Linked DNA regions of Homo sapiens: region 1 is linked to region 2. The links are contacts of gene promoters, found by promoter capture Hi-C in blood cells and fetal thymus (Javierre and others, 2016). All regions are on one chromosome and are shown on one strand. The core of a region is centred on a gene start or on the middle of the fragment in contact, and the rest is flanking DNA. Distances in the headings are between cores, read along the strand shown. Region 1 has its middle 53 kb from the start of OLFML3. Region 2 holds the start of SYT6 (synaptotagmin 6).

The links. Contacts are between HindIII fragments. The CHiCAGO score rates a contact against its expected background, and 5 or more counts as called.
Region 1: a contact is called between a fragment that was not itself captured here and the fragment with the promoter of SYT6 in region 2, in 5 of 17 cell types (M0 macrophages, M1 macrophages, M2 macrophages and 2 more). The highest score is 7.4, in M0 macrophages.

Annotation. Positions count from the first base shown.
Region 1 is chr1:114,029,780-114,035,201 of GRCh38, forward strand. No RefSeq gene overlaps it. Among named protein-coding and RNA genes, the nearest start is that of OLFML3, 53 kb to the left of the region's middle. RefSeq lists enhancers at 842-1,425, 2,010-2,593 and a silencer at 5,248-5,422. The HindIII fragment of the contact is 211 bases long and covers 4,048-4,258 here.
Region 2 is chr1:114,152,619-114,158,554 of GRCh38, forward strand. SYT6 (synaptotagmin 6) reads right to left here and starts at 1,251. Exons shown (of 8, transcript NM_001253772.2): 1 at 992-1,251. The coding sequence starts at 1,154. RefSeq lists an enhancer at 2,426-3,039 and a silencer at 3,969-4,263. The HindIII fragment of the contact is 4,368 bases long and covers 1-2,297 here.

The DNA of each region.
Region 1 (5,422 bases), core at 2,903-5,402, 120 kb before region 2:
GCTGGCCATCATGTCTCCACGTGGTGGCTGACACCGCCATAATACTTTTAGAGGCCCTCAAAATCACAAACTGTGCTCAACTCACTCTCTACAGTTCTCATAACTTCCAAAATCGATTTTCTTCCTCAAACCTGATGCATATACTTTCTGCCCCACTCCACTACCTCTCAGCAAGCCAAACTCATTACCTTAACTCGAGCCCTCACTCTTGCAAAAGGACTACGCGTCAATATTTATACTGACTCTAAATATGCCTTCCATATCCTGCACCACCATGCTGTTTTATGGGCTGAAAGAGGTTTCCTCACTACACAAGGGTCCTCCATCATTAATGCCTCTTTAATAAAAACTCTTCTCAAGGCCACTTTACTTCCAAAGGAAGCTGGAGTCATTCACTGCAAGGGCCATCAAAAGGCATCAGATCCCATTGCTCAGGGCAACACTTATGCTGATAAGGTAGCTAAAGAAGCAACTAGTGTTCCAACTCCTTTCCCTCACGGCCACTTTTTCTCCTTCTCATCGGTCACTCCCACCTACTCCCCCACTGAAACTTCCACCTATCAGTCTCTTCCCAAACAAGGCAAATGGTTCTTAGACCAAAGAAACTATCTTCTTCCAGCCTCACAGGCCCATTCTATTCTGTCATCATTTCATAACCTCTTCCATATGGATTACAAGCTGCTAGCCCATCTCTTAGAACCTCTCATTTCCTTTCCATTGTGGAAATCTATCCTCAAGAAAATCACTTCTCAGTGTTCCATCTGCTATGCTACTGCTCCTCAGGGATTATTCAGGCCCTGTGACCTCCCTTCCCTACACATCGAGCTCAGGGATTTGCCCCTGCCCAGGACTGGCAAATTAATTTTACTTACATCCCCCGAGTCAGGAAACTAAAATACCTCTTGGTCTAGGTAGACACTTTCACTGGATAGGTAGAGGCCTTTCCCACAGGGTCTGAGAAGGCCACCACGATCATTTCTTCCCTTCTGTCAGACATAATTCCTCAGTTTGGCTTTCCCACCTCTATACAGTCTAATAATGGACAGGCCTTTACTAGTCAGATCACCCAAGCAGTTTCTCAGGCTCTTGGTATTCAGTGGAACCTTCATACCCCTTACCGTCCTCAATCATCAGGAAAAGTAGAACTGACTAATGGTCTTTTCAAAACACACCTCACCAAGCTCAGCCTCCAACTTAAAAAGGACTGGACAGTACTTTTACCACTTGCCCTTCTCAGAATTCGGATTGCTACAGGGTACAGCCCATTTGCGCTCCTGTATGGATGCTCCTTTTTATTAGGCCCCAGTCTCATTCCAGACACCAGCCCAACTTGAACTGCACCCCAAAAACTTGTCATCCCTACTGTCTTCTGTCTAGTCATACTCCTATTCGCCATTCTCATCTACCCATAAATGCCCTGCTCTTGTTTACATTGCCGGTTTACACTTTTCCTTCGAACCAGCATAACTGATATCTCCTGGTTTTACCTCAAACCGCCACCCTTAAGTCTCTCTTAAAGTGGATAGATAATCTTTGCTGACAGGGTACGCTCCAATACTTTCACCCTGATGAAGCCCTATTCTTTACTTTTATACTCACTCTTATTCTCATTCTCATTCTTATGCCACTCTCTACCTCTCTCCCCAGCTATCTCCACCACACTATCAATCTCTCTCACTCTCTCCTAGCCGTTTCTAATCCTTCTTTAACAAACAATTGCTGGCTTTGCATTTCTCTTTCCTCCAAAATCGCTGAGGCCTCAACTTACACACTGAAAAAAAAAAAGACTCTGTATATTTTTAAATGAAAAGTGTTGTTTTTACCTAAATCAGTCTGACTTGGTTTGTGACAACATAAAAAAACTCAAGGATAGAGCCTAAACTTGGGACCAAGCAAGTAATTACGCTGAACCCCCTTAGGCACTCTCTAATGTCCTGGATGTCTGGATGTCCTGGGCCCTCCCAATTCTTAGTCCTTTAATATCTGTTTTTCTACTTCTTTTATTCGGGTCTTGTGTCTTCCGTTTAGTTTCTTAATTCATCCAAAACCGTATCCAGGTCATTACCAATCATTCTATACGAAAAATGTTTCTTCTAACAACCTCACAATGTCACCCCTTACCACAAAATCTTCCTTCAGCTTAATCTCTCCTACTCTAGCTTCCCACGCCACCCCTAATCCCGCTCGAAGCAGCCCTGAGAAACACCGTCCATTATCTCTCCACACCACCCCCCAAAATTTTCACTGCCCCAACACTCACCACTATTTCATTTTATTTTTCTTATTAATATAAGAAGACAGGAATATCAGGTCTCTGAGCCCAAGCTAAGCCATCATATCCCCTGTGACCTGCATGTATACATCCAGATGGCCTGAAGCAAGTGAAGAATCACAAAAGAAGTGAAAATGGCCTGTTCCTGCCTTAACTGATGACATTACCTTGTGAAATTCCTTCTCCTGGCTGATCCTGGCTCAAAAGCTCCCCCACTGAGCACCTTGTGACCCCCACCCCTGCCCACCAGAGGACAACCCTCTTTGGCTGTAATTTTCCACTACCTACCCAAATCCTATAAAACAGCCCCACCCCTATCTCCTTTCACTGACTCTCTTTTTGGACTTAGCCCACCTGCACCCAGGGGAAATAAACAGCCTTGTTGCTCACACAAAGCCTGTTTGGTGGTCTCTTCACACGGACGTGTGTGACAAGGAACACCCTCCTTGAGCACAGGGGGAGGGTGAATATCAGAACTGAATCTGACTTCTGACAACATAGGAGCTGAAGGGACCTTGGATGTTGGGTAAGCAGTTCCCACTGTCTGTCACAAGCCCTAATAAAATACAAGTAAGAGAAAAGAACAAAACTGGGGCAATCTAATCAAGAAAGGCTTTCTGGAATGCATGAGGCCCCAGCGAGATCTAAAATTCCTAGATGGACTTGGTGTTGTGGAAGCAAGACAGCAGTCGGGCAAAGGAGAGACAGGAAGCAAATGAATTCTACCTTGCCAACAATGGGAAACAGACATACTTAATGTGAGTAGAGAGGTAGCCTTGGCCAGGAAAGTTTGTTTGAAGATCCTGGTCTGTCTTGACTTTAAATCACTTGCCTTTGGAATGGAAGAGAACAGACATCTCATCAAATGAACCAATCTGAATGCAAGGAGCACCCGAATCCATCCCCACTCAGGAATCCTGGTTACAGATGCTAAAAGATGTCTTTGACAGTGAACAGTGGGTCATAAGATCTATTTCTGCCTCCTGTCTGTGACTCACTGGATGACTCAAGGTGAATCTCTCCCCATTTCTGAGTATCTGGCCCCCATCCATGAAGAACAGAAGATCACATCAGTATTTCCCTTCGGCAAGGTTGGCCCCCGCTGCAGCAACTGTGCAAAGACCACCAGACTGCCCTCTCTGCCAGCTTACTCTTCAGCCTTTCTGGCTCTTTCTCCCACTTCCACATCCCTGCTTCATTTTTCTTTTTCTCCTTTTGCAAATAGCATTGCTCCAAAGCAACCCAGGCACGTGTCTTGGGGACAGCGCTGCGAGCTACCCCTGAGCTGTGGGGAGCAGGCCCAAGATTGTTTGCTATTAGCAACTCCTGTTTGCAGGATAAATAAAGCGAACCTGAGTGCAGGCTCCTGTGGGCTGGGACATTTTCATTCTGCAGCAGGTCAGCTTCCATTCCACTAGGGGGCTTTGAATGTTAATAGGCATTTCTTTCCAGGTACCCTTCTCCTTTCTCTACAGTGCACCAGTCCCTGTGGGACCTTCCATTGGCATCCTACGGAGAGATTATTACTCTTTTCATTGTTTTCCTTACAAATTAGTTTCTGGATTTAATGGCTTTGGTTGCTGAGCAGATTTTGGAAATTGGGGCAGATGGTGGGGTGGGGTGATCTGCAGAGCCCATTATGGGCACTGGGTTATTGACTGCTTGGGATTTAAGGTGGAATTAACGCTTTCCTGTTTCTTGGGGAATTTTGCGATGGGGTTGGACCTTCTTTTCCCTTAGAAGGAATTGTGTTTGTTGTTATTGCATGTTTAAGAAGCTTCTAGAAATTGTAGCTCTGGAATACAATAGGTAGAGAATGCAGGTTTTTAATGGGATGTGGGGGAGTGTTGCTCAGTTGTGGGAAGATTTGTAATAATGGTTGGGACTGGGGATAGAGCGTTACCTGAGGACGGTTTTATTAATGCCACAAAGCATAAAGTTTAAAAAAAAAGAAAAAAGAAAATCCAGGGGTGTCTTACTGTCAGAAGCTTTGGAACCATGTTGAATAGGTGCTGGGTAAAATGAGACTGAGACCTGCTGGGCTGCATTCCCAGGAGGTTAGGGATTCGCAGTCACAGGGTGTTTACAGTTAAGGGAACAGGTTAATAATGTTTACCAAACAGACCCAGGACTTAACAGACCCAAGAAATGTCTTGATGTCCTGCTATCTTAAGCACAAAAGCATTCTTTGTTTAGTAATAAATTTTGCTTTAAAGATAGTAATATAGATTCTTGCAAAAGTCAGTAGTTACACAAGGATTAACAATCCTTTGTCATGAGCCCTTGTAATAGACCACATCCTTTTCATGATTTTTTGCCTTGTTATCTCATATATAAACATGCATTGCACCTAATAAGGTGGGCGCCTTACTCCTCTTGCTTTCAGAAATGCCCTGCTCAGTCCATGGAGCAACCATTCTTTCATTCCTTTACTTTCTTAATAAACTTGCTTTCACTTTACTCTGTGGACTCACCTGGAATTCCTTCTTGTGCAAGATCTAAGAACCCTCTTTCGGGGTCTGGATTGGGACCCCTCTTTCATAACACTGGTGCTAGGAATGTGAGCACAAGTGCATGCCGGAGGAGTGGACAAAGGTGAGAACCACTGTTCCAGGAGGACAGGGTGGGATGAGATGGGCACCCTAGGAGGTAACGGGGTCTGTGAAAAATTGGTGGGAGCTGGTAATCTGAGTGATTCATCTTTGAGTTTAGGATGGGTTAGTCATCTCTACAGTGGGCTGGGACCAAGAGGTGCCCATCCAGCTAGAAACTGCTGCTGAGTGGGAGTTCCCACAAGGGTTTGGAGCTTCGAAATAGGAAGATGGAAGTGAACAGCGAAATGAGCAGCAAGAAAAACAGCTATCATTAAAAGAGGAATTTGGGGATCAGAGAAATTATGCCAAGGAGATGGTACCATTAATCTCCCAATTCAGATGGAAGCCTTTGTAGTTAACGGGGAGACGCCTTGTAATAAAAACCAGGTCAGAACGTAGGCAAAAGGTTCTTTAGCATAATAAGGCCAGGATAATTACTTCCTTAAGAGTAGGGTCAAAGCTGTGTTAATGGGAAGAATATGCATGCATTACATATGCTAGACTGAGGTCTTTGTAAGAAAATGAATTGCAAAGGGGTATTTTCTTTTAGGTCATT
Region 2 (5,936 bases), core at 1-2,500:
ATACCCTGGGCCGGCCGCCACGTCGCCGACCCTCCCGCAGCTCCCGCCGCCAGGGCGCGACACGCCATTCCCCCTGCCGCGACTCCCCGGAGACGCCGCAGCTGCGCGCCAGGGTCCAGCCCGGCGGGGATCGGGCTCGGGACTCACCCGCTCCGGCGAGCTCGACTCAGCTCGGGCTCCCGCCTCGGCTAGGCAGCCGCCTGGGGCTGCGTCCCGCGCAGGGTCAGCGCGGATCGGGCAGGAGGCGCCCTCTTGGCAAAGTCGGCTAGAGGCGCCAGCTCAGTCGCGCACCGGCCCCGAGTCCGAGTCCGAGAGGGACGGAGGGAGCGAGTTATAGGGGCGAGAGGGGGTGGGGGAAGGACGCCGCAACACCCTCATACCCTCCCCCACCCCGCCCCCTGTCCCCCGCCCCCCAGCGGAGACGCGGAAAACCACTCGCAGCCGGAGAGACACCCGGACACAAAGACCTCGTGCCAGCCGCAGACCCAAGTTTCTCCCGGAGAGACTGGGGGTCCGCCCGCGTTCACCGCGAGAACACACAAACGGACGGACAGACCGACGCACGGACCCGGGGACCTCGACACTCGCTAGGAGGCAAGCCCTATTCCTCAGCCGGGCGCCCCTCGTCTCCCGCTCTCTCCATGGACCCCTCTCCTGGCAAATCGCCCGCAGAGCGAGCTTGGAGATGCGAGGGAAACTGAAGCCCCAAGGGTGCCCCGTCCTGGGAGCCTGGCTGTCTGCGGGGTCCCCCGCATTCCGCAGTAGTAATACAGGAGGGCCGGGGGCTTCTACCCCAACCTCCGCTCCCCTTCGGGTCTCTCCTGGCTGTGCAAGCGATGGGCCAGAGGGCTGGACGAGGCTGGCTCCCAATCCAGAATCCCGAGCTGGGGAGTTCTCTCTAGGTTCTGGGGCTCCTGGGACCGGGGCTTTGGGGAAGGGAGATCGCAGGACGGATATCCAGGAAGGGAGGGGGCCCTGGGTCTCCCGTTACCTGCGCCTGCCGCGCTGGGACTCCGCTCTGGGGGCTGCAGCTCGAAGCTCCGACAAGTCTCCACGTCCAGCCCGAGAGGGGGCGGCCGGGCCCGGCACAGCGAGGCGAGGACCGCGAGCGCCTCCTGGCACCGAGGCCCGCCGGCCCCCCACACTCCGCTCATGCCCTAGACACCCAGGCTTGCCGAGCAGCAGCTCGAACCCGCGCCCCGGCCGCACTGGGGCGGGGCACGACGGCCCCAAGAAGACCCTCCCTGCAGCGGCCCCCTGCGGCTCCGCTCTGCTTTTAATCACTTCCCCGCAGGGTCCCCGCCCCTCACGTGGCATCCCGCGGCAGCTGGCGAGTCTGGCGCCTCGCGGCCGCCCCCTCTACACTCAGGGACTGGCCTGAGTCCGGGGGGTGGGGGTTTCGAGGCGGGAAGCCGGGCTGTCCCGAATCTCGGAGGGTGCAAGGCCAGGAAAGAGTCCGGGTTCCCACTCCGCATTCACTGCCTGGTGTGACCTTGGGCGTCTCTGAGCCTCAATTTTCCTCTCCGTAAAGGAGGTGTAATGATTTTAAGTACTTCACGGACTCCCTGGGGATAGAAAGATCGTGTTTGTGAAAACACTGGGTAAACTGCCACATGCCACACGAATGACAGAGAAATAGATAACCCCGTAACAGAAAGAGCGACGGTCAGGCAGGGTCTGGGAGGACCTTGGCCGAGGTTCCTGACGGGAGCAGTTAGACTGGCCCCCGAGTCCCAGCTTCGGAGGTAGAAGACCCCAAGACAGGCGGGCGATGCGAACTGCAAGACTTTCCGAGCTCCGCAATCCTGCGGTCCGCGGTACCCGCATGTTGCTATGGCGACGGGAGGCAGCGGCCGTCTCTCTCCATGGCAACGGGAGGGAAAAGTTTCTGGCAAACAGGAATGGGGGGTCATTTCAAGAGGGCGCAGGGCGCTCAGTTCCGCCGACCCACCTCCTTGCTTCGGTGAAACAGCACCAGAGATCATGTATCTTTCTGCTAAGCATAACAAGAAAGACAGAAAGCTCAACGGGAGGATTGAGGCTAGACTTAAAGTAGAGATCCCCTCAGAAACTGTGGAGTGAGGCCCAGGAACAGATCGGCTGAGAGGCTTCGAGCTGCCTCACTCAGCGCTGGAAGTCTGTGAGCCATGGTCAGGGAGGCCGGGGGACCAGCGCCCTGCAGGGGCCTATCTCGGGAGTCTCTTGATCTACACCTGTCGGCGGTGGGGCCCCTTCTGTGTGGGGCTCGCCTGAAGCCCCAGACTCAGGTCCATTTGCTCTCCCGGAGCTGGGAAGGAAGCTTTAGCTGCAGCCCCTGGAGGCTGCTGGGTTGGTGTATGCCCGAGTGGCTGGCGAGGGAGAAAGGTCTTGCCTCTTAATTAACACGCTTATTGGAAGTGACTCGGGCAGTGACTCACGTTCCGGAGGGAGGAGATTCGGAGCCTTAGCTCCTGGCGGTCTCCACTGCGCGCCATCTGTGCCAACCGGCCCTTGGACTTGCGATCCCCTAGCAGCTGGTGCCTGGGGCACCAAGGGCTAAGGCAAGGCCTGTGAGGACCCTGGCCCAGCCAGGCGGCTTTTCCACCGTGAGGCGCCCCCTGGCTCTGTCCACGGTGCTGAAGACCCAGTTGGTGCTACCATCGCGTGGGCATAAGTTTAGGGGACGAGGGAGAGGCAATTGTTGAAGGTTCGCAGCTTCCACCCTGACCCCTGTGCCTGTGATAGCAGAAGGCTAGGAACTCAGGCAGGGACCAAGCAGACACGACGCAGGCGATACTGTGCAATCCGGGCTGCCTTCCTGCTGGAGGTGTTTGGTTGCTGTTCCAAGAACAAGTGGGGCTCTGGCATCCCTATGCGCCTTCCTGGTGCTTCTGAAAACCCACCTGAGGAGCCTAGAGGCCCCATTAATTTCTTTTCCATCACCCGATGCAGATCTCAGCACCCAGAAGAGCCTCTGGCTAAACGCTTATTAGCAGTTTCCCAAGTGGCAGGTTTGTGTTTATGTAAAATACAAATGGAGAACTGCTCTTTGCCCGTGTTTATGGCAACTCTGTCACTCCCCTGCTATTTCTCCCTCCCCCTCGCGAGTTCCTGGGGGAAATTCACAGAACAAAGCACCTTGTTTTGCCTTTGCAGAGAATGAAAAAACACAGGACCATTCCAAGGGCCCAGACCTGTGATGCAGGGAAATCAATATTTTGCTTACATCGAGTGGGGGAATTTGCATCTAAACTGAAGGCAAAGGAGCTTGTTTGGAGCAGAGCAGGTGGCAGGAGCCGAGAATTAACAGATAATTTCTCATTGTTCCTGGATTCAGCCTCCACACTCGGCAGGCGCTTCTGCAGCGTCTCTGGCGCCCCGGCAGCAGCTCCGGACCTGGCATTTCTCAATCTAGCAGTGTGAAGGAGCTGCTGCCCTGATAGGGCTGCAGAAACAGGTTAGGGCCCCTGGGTCAGTCAATAGCTATTGAAGTTGGATTGTAGGAGTTAGCGTGTGTGGGAGAGACAGAGATGAGAGAGACAGAGAGAAAGAAACAGAGACAGAAATAGAGGCAAGAGACAGATACAAATGAGAGAGACAGAGGATGAGACAGAGATACAGAGAGACAGTTATAGGAAATAGAGAACAGAGAAACAGACAGGGAGACAGATGTACAGGTAAAGAAACACACATTCAGAAGGAGACATTAAGGTAAAGCCTCACCCTAGTTGTCCTCTTTAGCCCGCTACCTCCCCCAGCCCCCAGGTCAATTGCTGATACCACTGTGGTCACATAACCAGCCACAAAGCAGAAAAATTCTTCATGTAATGATGGAAACTTTTTTGTCTCTCAAACCCCTTTGCCCTGCAAACCCAACCCCCAAACACACCTTTGCTTCTTCCCATATGAAGAGATAAAATTCAGAGTCCCAGGGTCCCACCAAGAGCTGGGAGGGAGGATCCAGGGTCCCACTCAAACCCAGAGAGGGAAAGAGGTGGAAAGAAGTGGAATTGTTGCCCTTCAATTCTATCTCTCAGAGAAATCCCATTCTGAGTTTGGGTTTAGGGGTGGGGAGGAGAGAAGCAGGAGCAGAGACAGTTAAGCATGGAGTGGTGGCAAATAAGTACATTGGACAGGGCCTGGGAGGGCTGGGATTCAGGGCTGGTGCACCAAAGCAGCCACGAGGCTGTCACATCCCCTATCTGGGGCTCAGTGTGCCTATGTGAAGTTGGATTAGGAGCTCTTTGAGGCTCCTTCCAGCAACAGCACTCTAGGATTTTACATGAGGGAGAAAAGAGGAGGCTGGGGCAAAGGGAGGAGGGAGGCAGCCTTTCCTGGCTCTGAAGCTGAGGGTGGTTTTACAGAGGCCAACTCACTTTCAGCTCCCCCTCCCCCATCGTTCTCATTGCGCCTACAGCCATGCATGGAGCATCCCGAGTCTGGGCACCTCCAGACCAGACTTCTCAGATGCAGGAAGAGGAGCTGGGGTGGAATGGGAGGCAGAATGAGAGGAGGTTTGAGACAGAAACAAGAGGCCTCCCACTCCTATGCCCTCCTCTCTTCGGAAATAGCCAATGTGCTCATCTCCTGCCCCCAACTTAAGTCTCTGCCCTTGGGCAGGCTCCCACTCTGCTCTGAGCAGCAATGTCTTGTTGAGTTATGTTGCAAATAAAATAAATTAAAACCAAATAATAATTTCTTTAAAAAAATTGAACCTTGGTAGGAAATTGCTAATGCTGTAGGCGGGAAGAATGAGCTCCTTTGACATGAGCCGATGTGTCATATTGTCTTTCCATCTCAATGCAATTTCTAAATAGGGAGCCCTTTCCCCATTCCCTCCTCCCTCCAAGTCCCCAGCAGAAATGTAAAGGGAGCAGTCTGACGATTGTAGCTGGATTGTCTGACGTGCAGGGAGAGACACAGAGGAATAGACACACAAGCACACCTACAGCTTTGCCACGTGGATAGAAGCTAAGGAGGCTCTGACCCAACCCTGAGGGCCCCTGGTCTCTTCTCCCCACCTCCCCCATCCTCTGCTTACTGAGGCATGTAGCCGCCTTCTGCAGAAGTGTTAATTTACTCAAAAAAACAAACATCAGTTGAACCTAGTCTACTGCAGAATCAAGTTGAGGTCCTGTATTTGAGGGTATAACTTCATATCATTATTTGGAATAAACTGTACTATGGATTCCCTATGGGGTTTCAGCCAGAACAGCTTTATCAGTATTTCCTGCAGATGACACTCTCTCCCCCAGCCCCCATACCAAGATAGCAAATCTAGCCAAAGCTGGGTGACTTCTGCAAATCATGCTGTCCCAAGCCATCATCAGAGTTTTCAGGGATTCCTCCTTACCTGAGAAGATGCAGAAGACGTTGCAGAGCTCAAGGTCAATGCCTAGGTGCTTTTTGAAAGCGTCCATTCTTGCTTTTATTCCAAGAAATATGCTTGGCAGTTCAAACATCCTGAACCAGGGTATATTTGCCTCTCTCCCATTCCTCCCCTATTTCAGCAGTCTCATCTCTGTTCTGTGCTCTCTGCTCAAGCACACAATATTCCACATCAGACTTGGGAAGACTGGACAATGTTTTCTGCATCCAGCCTGGCTTTGTGGACAAAAGCAGGCTGGAGTTCGGGGAAGCAGAGACAGGTTGAAGGTCAGAAGGCAGTATCATCCTTCAAACAACTTTAGAGCTAGGCCTAACCATGGTGGGTCGAGGTCTGTCTCCATTACTGAGAAGTGAAGATGATGTCAGAATGGAAGGGCTAGGAAGGGAGCCAAATAGTCCTCTTCTCACTGACCTTGTACAGAAGAAACAGCACGGCTTTGGAGTTGGACAGATCTGCGTTCAAATCCTGGGTCTGTTATTTACCAACTGGATTGCTTTAGGTGCTATACTTTAGCTCTCTGAACTTCAGCTTCCTCATTTGTAAAACGGGACATATAGGGCCTGCTTCA